Regions from separate parts of the Homo sapiens genome. Here region 2 is linked to region 1. The links are contacts of gene promoters, found by promoter capture Hi-C in blood cells and fetal thymus (Javierre and others, 2016). All regions are on one chromosome and are shown on one strand. The core of a region is centred on a gene start or on the middle of the fragment in contact, and the rest is flanking DNA. Distances in the headings are between cores, read along the strand shown.

What was found. The method cuts DNA at HindIII sites, captures the fragments that hold promoters and counts their contacts. A CHiCAGO score of 5 or more calls a contact.
Region 2: a contact is called between a fragment that was not itself captured here and the fragment with the promoter of PLPP5 in region 1, in 6 of 17 cell types (total CD8 T cells, total B cells, total CD4 T cells and 3 more). The highest score is 8.3, in total CD8 T cells.

The regions. Positions count from the first base shown.
Region 1 is chr8:38,266,902-38,271,584 of GRCh38, forward strand. It overlaps PLPP5 (phospholipid phosphatase 5), which reads right to left and starts at 2,323. Exons shown (of 7, transcript NM_001102559.2): 1 at 2,225-2,323; 2 at 1,981-2,089; 3 at 1,470-1,560; 4 at 996-1,059; 5 at 366-490. The coding sequence starts at 2,298. It overlaps NSD3 (nuclear receptor binding SET domain protein 3), which reads right to left. Exons shown (of 24, transcript NM_023034.2): 24 at 2,803-4,683. It also overlaps a transcript of DDHD2 not described here. RefSeq lists a silencer at 2,042-2,521. The HindIII fragment of the contact is 3,801 bases long and covers 1-3,011 here.
Region 2 is chr8:38,318,441-38,323,123 of GRCh38, forward strand. It overlaps NSD3 (nuclear receptor binding SET domain protein 3), which reads right to left. Exons shown (of 24, transcript NM_023034.2): 8 at 2,632-2,732; 9 at 455-500. Among named protein-coding and RNA genes, the nearest start is that of PLPP5, 52 kb to the left of the region's middle. The HindIII fragment of the contact is 2,060 bases long and covers 1,316-3,375 here.

The DNA.
Region 1 (4,683 bases), core at 1,073-3,572:
TCCCCACCTCATTGGATTATTGTGAGCTATAATTAGGTAAGAAATGAAAATGCTTCAAAGTACCTGACACATAGAAACTCTTCGTTAAAGGTATTTTTATTGCTAGTACAAGATTGCAGGATCTAGGCAAATAATATAACAATTAAATGTGCAAATCTCATGAAGGTAAACTACCTTTCTGTTCTGTAATATTTACCCAAATAGTCAAGGCTCAGACTTGTTAAACTGTGGAGTTACTAAAGAAGGGGGGATTTTCCAAATTGTAGAAACAAGAGTAGTCAGATTTTCCCATCCCTACTAGCTTTCTAGGTTAAATTCAATGATGTGAAAACAAGCATAGGGTAGAGTCCATATGATATTCATACAGGAAGAATGTCCACTGGGGAAGCTCTTTCGGCCCTCATTCACCACGTCCTTATCCCCTGTACACATCAAGTCAGAATGGGCTAGCCCATCAGGGAAGCAGCGGTAGAAGAAATCTGGGCGTGGCCTGGAAGAAAGCAGCATGGTTGGAACGTAAATCATTAACTCCAGAAATTATTTTTCAGTTGTAGCAGACATTAATAATCCTGTTAACTATTGGTCAAATAGTGCCCCAGGCAAAATAAGGTAACTGGCTTAGTATAGTCACCACACTAAGAGAAAAGCCTTTCAAGGTGAGCATTTAAATTAGGGGAAAAACGCCCATTCCAGCACATGATTACTTTTTAGGGCAAACAGCAAATGACACTGCAGCTTCAGGAGGTGCTCAAGAGGACACTGACCGACTGCTGTGGCCGTTGGTGGGAAATGCTGTTCAGGCAGAAAAGAGCCCAGGTGTCACCTGGAGGACTGAGGTATGGGGAAGGGAGTAAGCGTTGAATGACAAAAGAAAAATCAGAGTGAAGATAAAGGAGAAAAGAATGAGAAAGACGTGTGGTGGACACCATTAACCTCTCTGTTCTGGTGGGTAAGGGCTGAGGCAGATGCTGGGGTGGTTAGCTGTTGTCACTTACCTCCCTACGATCAGTTTTATTGTGTTGGTAAAGACGCCATTCAGAGCCAGGGCAAGGCTGGCAGCTGCAAAGCAAAGCCATTAGTTGAAAGGATCTGTCTAGGAGGAAAGGTATGGTCATGGCCTCGTTATGAGAGCAGCCGTGCTGTTTCTGAGATGGATAGAATCCAACCAGGCCTGGGCACAAAAATAATTAGGGTCCTCAGTGATCACTCTTTTGTAGCCGAGAACTTTTGTACTAGGCCAAAGACATTTCTGAGGTACAAATAACCCAGTGCATTTAGGCACAGGGCTGCCTGCCGTGTAGCCTGCGTAACCAAGTCCCTGCAGTGCTATTTTCCTCTCCCGCGGGGATAGAGTTCCTTTAGGAATGCAGAACTCAGTGGCCTCCACACAGGCTCACCGTGGCTGAATCCCACAACGACCTCCTAGGTTCCCAGCACGAAGAAACCGGCCCGAAAGGGCTAGCGCTCACCCAGGCAGGCTTGTCTGCTGTCTCTTGTGTCTGCCTTCTTGAGAAATTTGGCCAGGAAGATCAGAGACAGTGGAGAGAGAAATGCAATAACCTGAATCAGAATGTCAGAGGTTAAAAACAATCCAAAAAAAAGCCACACTCGTGCTCCTACAGGAAAGAGGGATGTGACACAGCAGGACTCACTGGAGCTAACATAAGGTCTCTGAGTGCGCGTAACCGGGCGCCAGGCAGCGCCACCAGTGAACAGCAGCGCCCGTGCGGCTCGGGCCCCGGTACCTCAGGCTGAGGCACAGAGCGCCCGGGAAAACGTTGTCTCAGCCCAAAGAGGCTCGGACACCCTCCTCTCTCAATCAGGATCTTAAACACTCGAGCCCTAGGAGGCGGAACCCAGCGCACAGCAGCGGAGTGGGCAGTGGGTCCCTACAAAGGCCGTCTCGGGGTGGAAAACGCACAGGTGCCCGCGGGAAGCCGGGTCATGGGGAGGGAGGAAAGACGATCTTTCTCCACGCACAAACATCGGCTTGGTGGGGAAATACTCCGCCTCCACGTAGGGGTTCCGGTAGAGCCACATCTCCTCCGGCTGGATGAGTCTCTGGAACGGGGGGAGCAGCTCCGTCACCCTAGAGGGGAACAAAGAAGCGCAGAGCAGGTCGCCTGGCTTCCTCCCCGCTTCCCCACTGCCCGACCCGCCGCCCCGTGCCGCCCGCCTGCCTGGGAAGCGGGGCCGCCCGGGCCCGGCCGTGGATCTTTCTTACAGGAAGGCCGCGAACAGCGCGAGCCGCACGCCCACTTCGGCCCCAAAGGCCACCGCCGCCGCCGCCTTCCCCATCCGGCCGCGAGCTCCGAGCGACGCTGCGCTGACGTGGCCACCTCCGCGGGGAGGGCCGGGCCGGGAACTGGGCACCGCCCCCTCTCCCAGTTGCCCGCGCTCCGGCGGCTCCCCAGGAAGACGGCCTGGCGGCTGTGCCGAGGGCATCGTCTGGCAAAGGGTACGCAAAGCCAGCGGAGCTGCCCTCTGGTGCGTTCAGCAGGGAGCCAGCGCCCCAGTTCCAGCCGAGTAGGTCGGCGTACGGTCCATCATCAGCAGCTCGTCTCCACGGCCCAACCACACCACCGCGGGGAGCAGCCTTCTCCCGGGACCTCGCCTCTAAATGGAAAACCAAACAGCCCGCTCTCAGATCCTCGTTCCTTAGCAACACAGCCGCATTCTGCAGGAAGCTACACTACCTGAGGTTGGCTGGATTGTGTCATTTAGTCCTCCCACCCAGGATGGCCTCCTGCCCAGAGTGTTGTAGCAAAAAATTATTGGCAAAGAACAAGCCCACATATTTAATTTGGAACATACAGGACAATTTATTGAAGTCAATCTCAAGCAAAATCTGAAATCAGTGGAATGTCATTAAAAACCTTTCCAAATTAATCCTCACGGAAGCAAAAAACACATTGGAATTCCAAAGTATTTGTAAAATAAAAAAGGCAACATCTCAGTAAATATAATGTACAAAAATTATATGTTCCTACCAGCACACACATCAGTAAAGAAGCTTAAATATTACAGGCAACCCTAAATACACTATAACTAGTCAACAATAAGCTATCTATATACAGGTTAACCAAGCTTTACACGTTTCACACTATGCAATAAAACATAGGCCAATCAACAAAATCCTCAAAATATTATATATCTTGAAGTCTATGTGGCAACATCAAGTCATTATACAGTAATGCCCTAGTGGAACACCCCCAGGGAAAATTAACACTAATCCCTTAGTGTCAAGAGCTTCTAGCCAAGTCACAGAAACTCAAAAGAGATTGACTTTAGTGAATATTGATGCTTTGTTATTAAAGACTCAAGTCTCAAGTGATTTAGGCAAAGTAATGGTTCACAGGATCTACAAAGTTTATTACAGATAAAGTACAGAAATAACCAATCTACAAAGATCATTATCATAAAGAACACGAGAAAATGAAAACGGAGTCTGTAGGTATCTGTGTTTGTTGTGCAATATCACTCAAATGGGTACAAATGAGTTTCTCATATCAATTCCAAATATACACATACCCTTGTATATAAAAAATGATATTAGCCAGTTGTAATACTCATTTAGCATCTTGATTATTAGTGGCAATATAATTATCTTAACATAGGGCATGTAACAGGACAAATGAGATAAAATAATGACAACCAAGTAAGTTTTATCCAGTCCATTTCTAAACTGACAAGAATACCTTATTCAATACCTTATATAGGTCATCTGACAGATACTTGAGGGCTGTTTGCACACATCAAGTGTGTTGGCAGGCAGGGAGGGGAGCAGTAAAAGCTGAGGGTGCTTTCTCACTAACTAGCAGATGCAGTAATGCCACATAAGAAAACTAAGGACTGAATAAATGACTTTGGCATCTATTCTATTTTCCCTTTTTACTTACATGTAAATTACTTTTACAGCCTACTGAAGGACAGGCAATTCTCATCCCCCTCCCGCTTCATACATACGTGCCACAAGCACCCAAACTTGTCACTTATGCAATGGACTGACCAAAACAAAACAAAAAACAGAAATGTTTTTTGAAAGACACGGATTACCCACATTTTGGGAGTGTAACGTAAGTGCAATTTTTTGTTTTGTTTTTTTCCCTACATAGACATAGTAAAAGGAAAGAAGATGTGCTTGGGGAGAGGGTTGACAAAATGACAAAATAAAGAATGTACATAAAAAGTATTTGTAAAAATGCTGGTATCTCATGCAGGAGTCTCTTCCTCAAATGTGTTCAATCAATCTGAGCTATCTACTGTGAACACTCTCCCATTTGCAGAACTTCACCTTTAATCCACGCTAAAGAGGATAAGAGACTAGGCTATTTATTTTCAAAACAGTTTACAAAACAATGCTTTCTACTTCATAAATGTAAAAAGAAACTAAAATAAGGAGAATCTGAAGAGTTTCAAGTACTTAAAAAACCTGAATTCAATGAGGCAGAGGTCTCAATGTTAAAGTGACTATTTCGTACCTGTGGTAAACATTATCCCCCCCCTTACCCTTTACCAGGAGAAAGGGGGTTCCCTTTCTCCTGGTACCCCACCCCAGGTAAAAGTTGGTGAGATTTCAGTATATACACATTTCCAACTTTTCAGTATTTGTTAATTCATTGCAAAGCTGTCTAATTATAGTATTCCCTAGTCCATCTGAAAATGGAAGCAAGTTCTACTTTT
Region 2 (4,683 bases), core at 1,096-3,595, 52 kb after region 1:
TAATTTACAAAAAGATTTTACAGCACTGTAAAAATAAATGTGGCAAGATTTTTTCAATCAGCTTGTCTTGTCTGATTTGTCATAGTCCATGTTTGACAAACATGAATAGCTACTATTCGGTATTCAGTCGAATACCAAAAAAAGTGGATTCGTCACATCCCTAGTTTATAAGCCAGTGAAACCCCAGAATCTTATGGAGAAAAGTTGGAAACAGTATCAAGTCTACGTTGTGTTCTCCAATTTACCAAAACAAGTAAGACTTTTCACGTGGAGGTACAGAATAAGATCAACTCTAAAAGTCACACACACACACGAACACTGGGGAATACTGCAATTTCACACTGAAGAGCAACAACGATTTACAGAGACAGACAAAAATACATGAAGTACAAATAATTCTTAAAAATTGGTTTTAATCAAGGAAATGCAAAGCAACATTATAATATTAACTCACCTTTCTGTAATCCAGTCTTCACTGTAGCCTGAGGAACTGTTTCAACCTGTTTGGACAGAAAAATACAGCATTAACAAAGAATTTTTTTCCCTTTTAATTATTAACAGAGGGAAAAGATACTTTCATCAATCTAAGCAATGATGAGTGATTAATGTATCTGAAATCTGAACTCAGTCCCATCTTTTGGGTAAAGTTCTCTGTCTCAAGATCAGGGAGGGTTTAAATCCTAGCTGCCTGTGCTGAATATCAAGTGACAACACACAGCCACATGCTCTCTAGCAAAGACTTTTCCCACCATTCCCTTGGTATATGAAGAGAACAAGAATACTTTCCTCAGTGTCTGGAAGGCAGGAGAGGGGTTGTTTCTGCAACCGGCCCCAATGTTGCTAAAAACCCCTCCCGCCCCAAAGACGTTAGGATAAATTTTTACTTACTATGATACTCAGGTTAATGTAACTCACGCCACTTTAAGACCCTTCCGCGCCTGCACTCACAGCTAAGTTGCTGGGAATCAGGACCCTCTCTGTAGAGAGTGCTACAGGGCTCCATACAGCTGGAAGCTCAATACTTTTGCTGCTAGTACAAACTTAAGAAAATAAGTTTGTGATATTGCAAAAGCACTTTCTTGAGTGTCTTATGAACAGTGTCTTGATCCTACATTAGGAGAGCGAGATCAGAAGTTATTCTGCCAATGTATATGTAAAACACGTGGTAATTTGAGGATTGAACCATTGGAATTAGAGAAAGGAGGCTGTTTGGAGGAGTTCCTGTTTAAGCTATAAATTGAATTTCATGTTTCTTTAAGATGTGGTGAAATATGAATGTTGAAACACATTTTGTAAATATTTAAGGATTGTTCTAAGCTTTTTAAAAAAAATTTTATTTTTTTTACAACAGGTAAAAAAACATACAACAGAAACGCTTTTATAAGATACAATTAGTAATACAAATATAAAATCTTCTAAACAATCACTGGTATTGTTCTACTACTAACTATAACACAGTGGCATTAACAATTTGTCCCACTTTTTATACTCATTCTGCTTATTAGTTTAAAACTGACTGGTCACAGACTGATTTTGGGAACCAGCTGGCAAAATCACAACTTCATTTTGGTAATGAATAACTATAGATTTTCAAGAGCTTAGAAAGATTTTTTGGAATATAATTTCCTAAGTATGAAATATGAAAGTTAATATGATAAATGAATGACAAATTAGTATACTATTTAAATTTTAGTTAAATATTCTGGAAAAACTGTTTCACTTGCTTGGTGATACCACAGAGCACCCACAAAGTTAGCTTTTAAATTTGGAAGTTTAAAATCATGAAGGAAATATTTTAAATAGAAAAGCTCACATTCTTCCATATAAATGGTTTAAAAAATATAAAACTTATTGGAACTAATTCTATTCAGAATTTGTTTTGTTTGCTAGCAGGTGTTTAGGCTGTAAGAATGGATATTCTTTAACAAAAAAATTAAGAAAAAATCTGATTGTGAGTTTAATTTAAAGAAGAATGGCTTCTAAAATTTTATTTGAAAAGTTGATTTAAATGTATCTTACTACATTGATTACACTGGTTTAATACACTTCAGTCAAAATGCAACCCCCCCACACACCTTTTTTTACCTAAATATTATTTATCTGACAACCTGATATCAGGTGAATATTCCACTGGGAAAATAACATTCCAAAAAATCTGCGATATTAACAGAAAAAACAGATCATCTATGAATATCTGCTTCTTAAATATAAGAATATAAATTAAATTGATTTGTTTAAAAAATAAAAAACAATATATACCAGCAGCTTAAACCAAAAATCAAACTTAAAAAAAAAAAAAGGAACTCAATGATGGTTCCAAATAAAAATCATAAAAACATGAAATCATTCTGCTGATAACAGAAACTTCTAAATAAATGTGAAGGATTTTTTAAGTCTTGCACCACTGGCTTCCCATCTCCTGAAACCTGTTTTCTGTGAAAATGCTTGAAGCAGAATCACAGGGATGGCTGTATTAAAACTGAGCACTGGAACCCACCAGGACAGAAGCGTTAAGATAGTCCAGAAAGGAAACTCAGTGTGGGGGAAAGTTTCTCTTTCTTTTAAGACAGGAATGTAAGCCACAACATTTACAAATACAATGTTTTAACTCTCTACATGTAGGAAGCCAACCTGCTCCTTTTTGATCTTCTTCTTTGGCACAACCTCAGTGGATTTCTCTGATTCAGAACGAGTTCTAATTGATCTTCTCTGTTGCTTCTTTTCTACTGAGCCTAAGAAATGATTTAAACACACAAACAAAAACTCACTTAAGGATACCTTGACATCTATGTAATTAAGATATGACCACATTCCTTGCTTTTCTTACCCATTACTTTTGGAATTTTAATTAAAATCATTAAAAAATGCTAAACATTCAGGAGCATATAAATTATTTAACAGATCAAATTGTAAAGGCTGATAAGCTGAGACTGGGATTCACAAAGGGTCCTAAATTATACAAATAAAGGGGGATTGGTTTTTTAAAAATTGAAAAGTCAAACTAAAACAGCAGACACATTAGTTTTAAAGGCACATAAACATCTTTAGGTAAATATAATTAGGGAATGAAGGGACTGAAGGATGCATAAAAATAAACTTTATTATCCACCTGATGTTAGAAATTATTGGTTCAAAATTCAATCAGTGCCACACATTCTGCATTTTAACAAATGAGTTTAATTAATTCTATACATAAAATGGTTAACAGTGCTTGTTGCACTTATGTAAGTTTTGCTGTTGTTATTAATAACAAAAGCAGGAAAAGCAGGGAAGGCAAAAAATGTGACCAAAACCTAATCATTAATTTGACTATCAAGGGATCTGTTATACTCTGGAAATAATTAGTCGTGGAAAACTAGTTGAAACAAATTATCAAGCTTTTTCATGTTAAATGGTAAAACAAACTATTAAGATTTTTAAAGAGTACAATTCTTTAAAAGCGAATTGAAGAAAACTCACATGGACCCCATTTTTGGAAAGGATAAAACTGAAATTGAAGAACACAACTTGAAAGAACATTGTCAGGAATGATTTCATTCTGTGAGCCTGAGGAGGAATGATACCTGCAGTGCAGCTGTTCTCCATGTTTTCAGTGCCTGGACCACCTACGTATTCCTTCCTAAATCATAATCACCTCTGGCTTGCCATAGGAAGAAGCCACTAAGACCTATAAAATCAGATAGAAGCTCTATCTATAAAGCCTTTCATATAACCTTTATATTTTCTGGTTTCATTGCTCTTGGCTATGTATAAATGACTTCCCTCACTTTAGTTCAAAGCCAAAATGAAGGATCCCACTACTTTGTTTTGTTTTTGGGAAGGAGCGGGTAGTTTGATAACAATATATTGTTTTAGAGCTGTGGTTAATCGATTTATAGTAATCACAAATAAAGGTATTGGCTCCTTTCTTTACTCTCACTCTTCTCCTTACACTGACGAAAATGTTTACTAAGACAGCAGATATGCTACCCTCCCAGACCAACCTGAGGATCCGAGATCCATACTTTAGTATTAAAGTGTCAATATTCAACTACTACTAGGAAGGGCAAAAATGAAAATGGAATTGCTTAAAAACGAACAAAAAAATATTTACTTGTGTTGAGGGTAATATAATCACACCATGAAGAGCAGATGAGATTTGATTTACTGTCTTATAGAGGATAAAGCAACATGATTTCTTAAAATTATTCTGAAAGTTACCCAAAGAACATATACATTTAAAACCATTGAAGAGTATTATGTTCATGTTCTAAGAAAGAGGAGGTGAGCATTTCTGGGTTTGGAAAATAACTTTGAAATCTAGTGTGAATACAAGTACAGTTCTTCAAACGACAAAAATGTGACAGTGCCAAACATTTTATATATCCCTGAAATTTACTAAGAAAAGGCTCAATAATTTCCTTAAGCAGTTAACATCAGCTGAGATGATGCAATTGGTTTCTGAAGGGTGAACAAGTTTCTATTTTGACTTTTCAACTACTGAAGTTATTTTCACAAAAAGCAAAATGGTCACTTAAAAAGACAAGGTATGCTTATCAACCACAGCTGTTAACCAAACTTCAAACAAGCTCAAAGCTTTAGAGCACCAGTCCCTAAATTAAGTTTTTTTTCTTTTCTTTTCTTTTCTTTTTTGAGACGGAGTCTCTCCCTGTCACCCAGGCTGGAGTGCAATGGCGCGATCTT